2 separate regions of the Homo sapiens genome follow, and region 2 is linked to region 1. Evidence: promoter capture Hi-C in human tissues and cell types (Jung and others, 2019). All regions are on one chromosome and are shown on one strand. The core of a region is centred on a gene start or on the middle of the fragment in contact, and the rest is flanking DNA. Distances in the headings are between cores, read along the strand shown. Region 1 holds the start of JPH2 (junctophilin 2). Region 2 overlaps HNF4A (hepatocyte nuclear factor 4 alpha).

What was found. The method cuts DNA at HindIII sites, captures the fragments that hold promoters and counts their contacts. A contact is called where the count stands out against the background at its distance.
Region 2: a fragment that was not itself captured here is called in contact with the fragment with the promoter of JPH2 in region 1 in 1 of the 25 tissues and cell types used here (neural progenitor cells).

What each region holds. Positions count from the first base shown.
Region 1 is chr20:44,184,612-44,189,745 of GRCh38, reverse strand. JPH2 (junctophilin 2) reads left to right here and starts at 2,558. Exons shown (of 6, transcript NM_020433.5): 1 at 2,558-3,419. The coding sequence starts at 3,041. The HindIII fragment of the contact is 16,539 bases long and covers 1-5,134 here.
Region 2 is chr20:44,382,087-44,387,796 of GRCh38, reverse strand. All of the region lies in intron 1 of HNF4A (hepatocyte nuclear factor 4 alpha), which reads right to left. HNF4A-AS1 (HNF4A antisense RNA 1) reads left to right here. Exons shown (of 3, transcript NR_172878.1): 2 at 3,125-3,274. Among named protein-coding and RNA genes, the nearest start is that of HNF4A-AS1, 11 kb to the left of the region's middle. The HindIII fragment of the contact is 4,459 bases long and covers 598-5,056 here.

The sequences.
Region 1 (5,134 bases), core at 1,309-3,808:
CTGGAGTGCAGTGGCACAAATATGGCTCATTGCAGCCTCCAACTCCTTGACTCAGCGATCCTCCTTGCCTCAACTTCCCATGTAGCTGGGACCACAGATGTGTATCACCACACCTGGCTAATTAAAAAAAAAAATTTTTAATTGTAGAGGCGGGGTCTCACTGTGTTGTCCAGGCTGGTCTCAAACACCTGGGCTCAAGCAATCCTCCAGCCTTGGCCTCCCAAAGTGCTGGGATTACAGGTGTGAGCCACTATAACAAGCACTTACAGTGTTTTTAACCAGAGATGAAAATCAGATTCATCTGAGGAGCTTTTAAAAGAATTCGACTGCCCAAGTCTTCTCCCAGGACAATCTAATTCTGTAGGTCTCGGGTGGGGCTCTCGGATCTCTTTATGTTTTTAAGTCTGTAAGTGATTCTTATGTGTAGTAACCCTGGGTAGACAGCTACCCTAGGGAGCTGCTATGGATGAACAGTGGTTAAATTCCCATAGGTAGAACACCCTGCTAAGATGTAGCAATGGCTGCCTGGCATAAACATATGATTACGGTATTGAATCTGCAGCTCAAACTCCCCTAGCTTCCAGTTTGAGATGCTCTTCCCTTGACAGCAGAGCTAGAAAGAAGTTTGTGATTCTCCAAAGACCTAGTGAGAAGTGGCGAAAGCAGAACTCCCTGGGAGTAGCCCTGAGATGTTCTTAGAAGTGAATTGTGCAAGCAGGCTGTCAGTCAGCCTGGCCAGGGCTCACACCTAACCACCCAGAGGAAACAGTTTTTATCCACTACGTGCTCCCTGTCAGCTTGGCAAACAGACGGTGACAGTGAGCCCAAGAGGCTGGGTGCCTCTACCTGGTGGTGAAACGCAGATATAGAAGGGGCTCTTGAAGGTCAGCGGCTGTGACCAAGGATGGAACCAAGTCCTAAGAACAGGTAACCCACTGGAAGGAAAGCAGGGAACACTTTTTACCCACTCCCCAAACAGGAACAAGACTTCCGCAGTGACTTCACGTGGCCTAAGTTATCATGGGGTTTGGAAATATGTCAGATAAGTTCAAAGTCAGATAATTGTCTAATGTTCTCTAGTACCTTCTGTGCTTAGTTCTCTCTTTCTCTTCTGTCCCCATCTTCACACACACACTCACACACACACACTCACACATGGAAACACACACACTCTTACCACACACACATACAAACACACACACTCTTACCACACACACTCACACAAACACACACTTACCACACACACACAAACACACACACTCTTACCACACACACTCACATACACTCACACACACTCTCTCACACTCTCACAGACACACGTTCACACACACGCACAGACACACACACACACAGATCTTCCTAGTCTTGGTGGCTCTTACCTTTCCCAGAATTCCTCTATACTCCCATTAACCTTGGGCTTAGCTGGGATTTACAATCATTAGCTCTGGCCACAGCTTCTTGCCATGGAGATTTATTTGTTCTTTTTACTGGAGTTTGGTGGGAACCTGAGTGGCTGGGAATCCACCCAGGCCCTTCTCTCCTGGCCCTGCCCCAAGAGCTTTCTGAAGTCTGGCCTCACAGGCTCCTAGGACACTAGAGCAAAAGACAGCTCAGAAAGGGAAATTTTAAAAAATCATGACCCTTGAGAATTTCTGAGAGGACCTCATTACAACACAACCCTGTGTTGACAGGAAGGGGACTCCTTTGACCTTCAGGGTCTGCTGGGTCTGCGGCAGGGGGCAGGGAGGGCGCCGAGGCATCAAGGGGTGGGGAGAGGAAGCTAGCGGGACGCCCAGTCTGTGTCTCAGGCAGAGAGGAGGGCAGGCTCCTCTCCCTTCTCTTTGCCCTTCAGGAGAAAGAGAAAGGGAATAGATGGTTGCTTCTTGCACCAAGTTCTCCCCGGCTTCCAGGGGTGGAGGGAGCTCAGGGTGGTGAGTGAGCACTGGACTGAGATTCTGTGTATCTTCCAGACCCTGTTTCCACAGCCTCCCCTCTCTTTCTGACTTCCCTCCTCTGCTTTCGGAAGCACATGTGAAACTGTCTCCATTCCTTTCTCTTTAGGTCACTGGATTCCTTGATGGGGCTGGCAGTGGTGCTGTAACCCCAGGTCCCCTTAGGGCATGTGAGTGGTGATGGGGCTGAGATCTGCCAACCTCCTCGCTCTGGGGGATTTTCAGTGTTCCAGGACTGGGTGTTCTGCTGGTCTCCCTCTCCCCTCCCTTCCCCGATTCCCCGGTGCCCTCCCTGCGCGCAGACCCAGGGGACTCTGAGAATGGAAGGGAGCTCTCATTCCCGGGAGGAAAAGACACCAGGTTCCCTGGGCTGCCTGCACTCAGTTCTCAGCCTCCTTCCTCATGCCTCCAGCCACTGCCCGGGTCTGCGGCACGGGCGCGATTTGAAATACCCCTCCTTCCCGCTTTGAAGAAGGCTGGGCTGGCTGGGGGTTATTTTGGGAGCAGCTTCTGAGATCCAATGGCCTTGTTAGGGCAACACTGACCTTTCCGTCCCAGAAGGAGGGCAGGATTGGAGAAGGGGGCGGGGCAGCGGCGGGGAGACCGACAGCCCCGCACACCCACTGGGGTGGAGAAGGGGGCCAGCGGGCTGCGGGAATTCAGCCTCCGGCGGGGGCTGCCACCGAGGGGAATTTCCCCTCTTTGAAAAGGCTGGGGACCCCTCCACCCCACCCTTTCACTGGGCTTCTTAAAGAGATCACACCGTTTTCCCTTGGACTTCTTGGAAGGCAGACTTGGGACGCTTTGTGGGGACTTTGAACCTTTCCTTCCTGCTTTCTTTCCAGCAGGCAGCCTTGCTCTGGCTGGTGGAGTCGGGGCTCCCGGGCATGGCACTGACTAGCCGACCCGGTGCTGACTTGGCGCCGGGGCTCTTTCAGCCTCTGCTGGCATCCTGCTTCCCCCCTCCTGGGGTGCAGTGGTGAGTCTGGGGGCCTGCCCCCGAGGGCACTGGAGGAGTGTTGCAGGCATCACCCACGCCCTCTGCACCCACGCTGGAGGACGGGGAGGTTGTCAGGGGCTATGATGAGATGAGTGGGGGCCGCTTCGACTTTGATGATGGAGGGGCGTACTGCGGGGGCTGGGAGGGGGGAAAGGCCCATGGGCATGGACTGTGCACAGGCCCCAAGGGCCAGGGCGAATACTCTGGCTCCTGGAACTTTGGCTTTGAGGTGGCAGGTGTCTACACCTGGCCCAGCGGAAACACCTTTGAGGGATACTGGAGCCAGGGCAAACGGCATGGGCTGGGCATAGAGACCAAGGGGCGCTGGCTCTACAAGGGCGAGTGGACACATGGCTTCAAGGGACGCTACGGAATCCGGCAGAGCTCAAGCAGCGGTGCCAAGTATGAGGGCACCTGGAACAATGGCCTGCAAGACGGCTATGGCACCGAGACCTATGCTGATGGAGGTGAGGCCAGCTGGGGGCCCGCAGAGGTGGGGTGGAGCCAGGGAGGGTGAGAAACCCTGGTGGAGGGTGGGAAAGGCGACCGGCAATTGGCACAGAATCAGATGGGCTAGGAAGTGATTTGCTGTGTGGTTTTGGGCAAGCTGCTCTACCTTTCTGAGCTTCCATTTTCTTGTAGTAAAGATGGAGCTAATAAAGGGGTTATTGAGAGGATTAGTGGCAGTGCTTAGTACAAAGCCTGCCATGTAAGTGCACACTCAACACACAATAAAATATAACTACTACCATTAGCATGTTCGGTATGCCCCAACATAAACAGCCATGGAATATACTCTAGCAGAATTAGGGTCTAGTCTTAACTTTGCCATGAAAATTATTTTCAAGCAATAGATCATGAGGAGTATTCATCCACCCACCCATCCATCCATCCACCCATCCAACTATCCACTCATCATCTATCCACACACCAATCCACCCACCCGTCCATCCATCCATTCATCCATCCACCCACCTGCCTGCCCATCCATCCATCTACCCACCCACGCATTCATGCTTCCACCCAACCATTCATCTACCCATCCAGCCATTCATACATCTACCTGCCCATCCACCCATCCATCTTTCCATCCATCCATCCATCCATCCATCCATCCATCCATCTATGATCCATCCATGGATTCTTTTTTTTTTTTTCCAAGACAAGTTCTCGTTCTGTTGCCCAGGCTGGAGTGTTGTGGCATGATCTCGGCTCTTTGCAGCCTTGATCTCCCAGGATCAAGTGGTCCACCAACCTCAGCTTCCCTAGTAATTGGGACTACAGGTGTGCACCACCATGCCTGGCTAATTTTTGTATTATTATTTTTTTTTTTGTAGAGACAGGGCTTTTCCATATTGCCCAGACTGGTCTCAAACTTCGGAGCTCAAGCAATCTGCCTGTCTCGGCCTCCCAAATTGCTGGGATTACAGGTGTGGGACACTGTGCCGGGCCTACATTCCTTTTGTGTTTCCTTTTTTAAATTTTTTAAAGATAGGTCTTGCTTTGTTGCTCAGGCTGAAGTGCGGTGGCACAATCACAGCTCACTGCAACCTTGAACTCCTGGGCTCAAGCAATCCTCCCATCTTGGCCTCCTGAGTAGCTGGAACTACAAGGCACATGCCACCAAGCCTAGCTAATTAATTGTTTTTTCTTTTTTTGTAGAGATGGGGTCTTACTATGTGGCCCAGGCTGGTCTCAAACTCCTGGGCTCAAGCAATTCTTGGACTCCGTGGCTCACGCCTGTAATCTCAGCACTTTGGGAAGCTGTGGTGGGAGGATCACTTGAGGCCAGGAGTTCAACACCAGCCTGGGCAATCTAGCAAGATCCCCATTTTTACAAAACGAAAAATCGAAAAACAAAGATAGGCATGCAGACAAACAGTTATACACATTATACACAAGTATGTACAGATACTGTTGCAGAAAGGAGAATTTAGATTTGAGGAGGTCAGGAAATACTTTAAATGGAGCTGACGCCTGAGCTTGGTCTCGACAGGACAGTTACGTTTGTGAGGGTGGGCATGGGGCAGAGAGAAGAGTGAAGACAAAGGCTCAGAAGCATGAGGGTAGCAGTGGGTTAAAGAATCAGAGAGGAGTTTTCTGTGGCAAAACAGCCCTGTGGAGTGGCAGAGCAGATGTCATTACCTAGTCCACAGGGTGTACATGGACATATCACTTAGCT
Region 2 (5,710 bases), core at 1,578-4,077, 200 kb before region 1:
CCACCCCAGCCAACCTTATGCATCATCTCTGGAGGTCTGCAAAAGTCTTTTCACTTCTTCCCTTTTTTTTTTTTTAAACCTGCCAGGGTTGGGGAGGGGATCTCCCCCGCTCCACCGCCCCCCCCGCCTCCCCCCCCCCCCGCCTGCCTCCACCCCACCCCTTCACTTTTTCTCCTGTGGCTTCCCTACCCCCTACTCTTCACTCAGGGGCCAAGGGTGATCTTGTACAAATGTACATTGGCTCAGATCCTCTTCTACTTAAATTTTTATGACTTCCTATGCATTTATAACAAAACTCATACAACTCCCACTTAACACTGTGAGGCCATGCACGCCCTTGTTTTTATATCCCTCCGTGTCCAACCTCATTTCATTCCACTTGCCCCCACCCCTATCAGCAGCAGGCATACTAGCCATTTTAAAGTTTTTCTTTCCTGTCTTGGGGGCCTTTGCATATACTTTCCCCTCTGCCTGGAATACTTCTTTTTTTTTTTTTTTTTTTTTTTTTAAGATGAAGTTTCGCTCTTGTCACTCAGGCTGGAGAGCAATGGCACGATCTCGGCTTGCTGCAACCTCCGCCTCCCAGGTTCAAGCAATTCTCCTGCCTCAGCCTCCTGAGTAGCTGGGATCCACACCCAGCTAATTTTTTAATTTTTAGTAGAGACGGGGTTTCGCCATGTTGGCCAGGCTGATCTCAAACTCCTGACCTCAGGTGATCCACCCACCTCGGCCTCCCAGAGTGCTGGGATTACAGGCATGAGCCACCACACCTGGCCTGGAATACATTTTAGTAAGTGTTTAATGGATAGTTGTTGGATGAATGACTGAAAAGGTCTTTCAAGAGGAACTGATAGTGATGTAAACTTCAAGTGCTCGGTGCGTAACAGGTATTCAATGAAAAGGATTCTATGCATATAGTAGAAATTTTGGAAAATAAAATAAAAATTGAAGATTTAAAAATCGTATGTGCTCCAACATTTAGAAAGGTTCAAACTCTTAATGGCTAACCAGGGTTTCTTGACCTAAGCACTAATGACATTTGGGCTAGAGAATTCTTTGTCGTGGGGACTGTCCTGTACATTGTCCCTGGCAGCATGTCTGGCCTCTAGCCACTAGATGTCAGCAGCACTTTTCCCTACCCTCAAGGTGTGATAATCAAAACTATCTCCAGACATTTATAAATGTCCCTTGGGGGTTGAAATTATCTCCACTGAGAACCACTGTGCTGGGCTTCTACCCTTACAAGAAATTTTCTCTCAGTCATTCAATGCTTCTCAAATCTTGGTGTCCATAAGAATCATCTGGGGCCATTATTAAAAATTCAGATGGCAGCTGGGCGAGGTGGCTTACACCTGTAATCCCAGCACTTCGGGAGGCTGAGGCAGGTGGACCACTTGAGTTCAGGAGTTCGAGACCAGCCTGCCAAACATGGTGAGACCTCGTCTCTACTAAAAATACAAAATTAGCCGAGCGTGGTAGCACATGCCTGTAATCCCAGCTACTTGGGAGGCTGAGACAGGAAAATCACTTAAACCCATGAGGCAGAGGTTGTGGTGAGCCGGGATCGTGCCATTGCACTCCAGCCTGGTTAACAAGAGCAAAACTCTGTCTCAAAAAAAAAAAAAAAAAAAAAAAAATCAGATGGTGGCTGGGCACGGTGGCTCACGCCTGTAATCCCAGCACTTTGGGAGGTGGGTGGATCACCTGAGTTCAGGAGTTCAAGACCAGCCTGGCCAACATGGTGAAACCCTGTCTCTATTAAAAAAAAAATTAGCCAGGCGTGATGGTGCATGCCTGTAATCCCAGCTACTCGGGAGGCTGAAGCAGGAGAATCGCTTGAACCTGGGAGGTGGAGGTTCCAGTGAGTGAAGATCGTGCCACTGCACTCCAGCCTGGGCGCCAGAGCGAGACCCTGCCTTAAAAAAAACAACAAAAAAAATCAGATGCCTGGGGTCCTACCTCCAGGTGCCAGGACCAACAGTGGGCCTAGTCATCAGATTAAAAAAAAGAAAATATTTAATAAATAGAGGTGGGGCATGGTGGCTCATGCCTGTAATCCCAACACTTTGGGAGGCCAAGGCAGGTGGATCACTGGAGACTAAGAATTCAAGACCAGCCTGGCCAACATGGTGAAACCTTGTCTCTACTAAAAGTACAAAAACTAGCTGGGTGTGGTGGTGCATGCCTGTAATTTCAGCTACTTGGGAGGCTGGGGCAGGAGAATTGCTTGAACCTGGGAGGCGGAGGTTGCAGTGAGAAGAGATCAGGCCACTACACTCCAGCCTGGGCGACAGAGTGAGAGTCCATAAATTAATAAACAAACAAATTAATTAATTAAAAAATAGAGACGGGGGGAGGTGTCTTGCTATGTTGTCCAGGCTTGTCTTGAACCCCAGCCTCAAGCAAATCAGCCTCCCAAAGTGCTGGGATTAAAGGCAGGAGCCATGGAGCACCTGGCCCAAGTGTTTAATGAGCTTCTGGGCACTTCTGATACCAGGTGCCCTCAGACCGCACTTTGAAAACTCCTCAAGGAGGCCTCTCAATCACCTGATCACCAAACCCTGTGTGAGGCTCCCTACCCACCTGGACCCTCTCCTTGAATTCCTCTCCTTTCCAATTATTACCCTTCCCTAGATAGCAAGTGGTGACAGAACCAAACCCTAGCTCAGCCAAAGCCCAAATTGCCTCATCTCCCTTCAGGGAATAGGCAAAAAAAAAAAAAAAAAAAAAAAAAAAAGATCACAGAGTTCAGCTGAAACCACTTAGGAAATATCAGCATCCCCACCTCCCCACCCAAAAGGACTCCTGAGTGGCAGCCTGAGAGGTGTGTCTGCTCATCAGAATAATGTTGTCAGACTGTGTTCTTTCTGGGGGATCATCACACTCCCTTTTCTGGGAACAAATGTTGGCCACTTGGTGGGATGGGCCATCATGATCTACGTCAGACAAATTCAGTGAGTCATGACTCAGCCTATCTCTCTAGACCCATCTTTTATGCCCCCTTACTTATAGTCTCTCTGAGGGCTGTTCTCAACTATTCTATTTCTCTCCTTTCCGGCACATGATGGGGATTACATTTTCTTGCTTCCTTTGAAATGAGATGTGACCATGTTACTTGTTTCAGGTAACGAGATGTGAGCAGAAACAACCTGTGTCACACCTGGGCAGAAGCTTTAAAGGCCAGTGCTGCCCTTGTTGGGGAAGCAAGTATAGATATGAATCGTTCCACAACGCGGAGCGCCCCCTGCCGACCCATGCTGGGCGTGTACTATAGGTGAGCAATTAACTTTGCTGTTCAAACCATTGAGACTTAGGGGTTTTTTTGTGGTTGCAAGCTAACTTCACTTCACTTGACTGAACACAGTCTTTCCAAAGTTTCACTAATTTTTTAATGACCATTATGATTTTTTCATATCTGTAACATTTTTCTTACATCAACTCACTTCTTTTTACTTCAATTTATTTTAGAAAGAAATATTATTACTACCAAATGAAACAGTATCATAAGTAGAAAGCAATGAGAAAATAAACAGAATGAAAGAAATCCTGATATCAAATCCTGACTTAATACTATTTGCCTTTCAAAGCCTCTGGACCTTTGGTCTTTATTTAAAAAAAAAAAAAAAAAAAAAAAAAAGGAGCCAGGGGCCAGGCGTGATGGCTCACACCTGTAATCCCAGGAATTTGGGAGGCCGAGGTGGGAAGATCACCTGAGGTCAGGAGTTCGAGACCAGCCTGACCAATATGAGGAAACCCCATCTCTACTAAAAATACAAAAATTAGCCGGGTGTGGTGGCATGTGCCTGTAATCCCAGCTACTCAGGAGGCTGAGACAGGAGAATTGCTTGAACCTGGGAGGCGGAGGTTGCAGTGAGCCGAGATCGCTCCATTGCACTCCAGCCTGGGCAACAAGAGTGAAACTCCGTCTTAAAAAAAAAATGGGAGCCAGGTGCGGTGGCTCATGCCTGTAATCCCAGCAGTTTGGGGGGCTGAGGTGGGCAGATCACTTGAGGTCAGGAGTTCAAGACCACCCTAGCCAACATGGTGATATCCTGTCTCTACTTAAAATGCAAAAATTAGCTGGGCATGATGGCATGTGCCTGTAATATCCCAGCCTCTTGGGAGGCTGAGGCAGGAGAATCACTTGAACCCAGGAGGCGGAGGTTGCAGTGAGCTGAGATTGTACCACTGCACTCCAGCCTGGGGGAGAGAGTTGAGACTCCGTATTTAAAAAAAAAAAAAAAAAAGAGGTCCCCAAGAGTACTTCTCAATCTTTTGGATCCCCAAAGCTGTCTAAGATTGTCAGAATATTTGAAGGCAGCACAGTATTGAGGCTGAGTGTACCAATTCTGGAACTTGACATCCTGGGCTTAAATTCTGGTTCAGTCATGGACTAGCTGTGTGACCCTGGACAAGTTACTGAACTGCTCTGTGACTGTTTTCTTATTTGCAAAATAGTGACCATAATGATGTGTATGGCATTAGGTCGTGGTGGGGATTATTTGTGTTAATGTATAAAAAGGGCTTAGAAGTGTGCCTGGCACTTAGTGAGTGCTATGGAGGCATTACCTATAAAATGATGGCAGGATCCAGATCCAAATAGATTTGGTGAATTATTGTTTGTTTTTTTTGAGACAGGGTCTCTGTCACTCAGGCTGGAGTGCAGTGGCGCCATCACAGCTCACTGCAGCCTCCAAGTCTCCAGGCTCAGATGATCCTCCTACCTCAGCCTCCAGAGTAGCTGGGACTACATGTGTGGACCACCACCCCTGGCTAATTTTTCTATATTTTGTAGATATGGGATTTCACCATGTTGCCCAGGCTGGTCTGGAACTCTTGGGTTCAAGCAATCTGCCCCTTCTTAGTCTTCAAAGTGTTGGGATTACAGACGTGAGTCACCCCACCCAGCCTGGAGAAATGTTTGAACTCCATGGAGATAAGTAAAAAATCCTCTGCATTGGTTAAAAATAAATCACCTGGATGATTTATTTATTTAGTGTAGATGGGAAAAGCTACCTTAGCAGAAAGTGACATAGCAAAATTCTAGAGGTTTTACTTGGTGGCAGCTGCCCAAACCTCTAACCCAGTCGTATGTATCATTAGAGAGAATGTAGTTCCCAGGTCAGAGGAGCTAAGAGGTCCTTGGCATTCTACTCCTAAGGAGCATATATGGACAATTGTGTTTAGTTTTCATTTTAATATGAATACTTAAAATTTTCCTAGGATGGCAGAGGATGAGAAAGCTATGCCCCTTAGGCCGAGTGCAGCGGCATGGCTCATGCCTGTAATCCTGGCGCTTTGGGAGGCCAAGGCGGGCGGATCACGAGGTCAAGAGATCGAGATCATGTTGGCCAACATGGTGAAACTCCATCTCTACTAAAAATACAAAAATTAGCCTTGCGTAGTGGTACGCACCTGTAGTCCCAGCTACTTGGGAGGCTGAGGCAGGAGAATTGCTTGAACCTGGGAGGCGGAGGGTGCAGTGAGCCGAGATCTCGCCACCGCACTCTAGCCCGGCAGCAGAGCGAGAGTTCGTCTCAAAAAAAAAAAAGAAAGAAAGAAAGAAAGAAAGCTATGCCCCTTGAAGAATAATCAAAGATCCAAAAGAGTTTTGGGCTGGGTATTGGAGAAGAGGAGAGAAAGGTGGTGTAGCAGAGTGGTCAGGGCCATTGCCTTTGAAATATCAGTGGTGCCATTTACATAGCTGTTG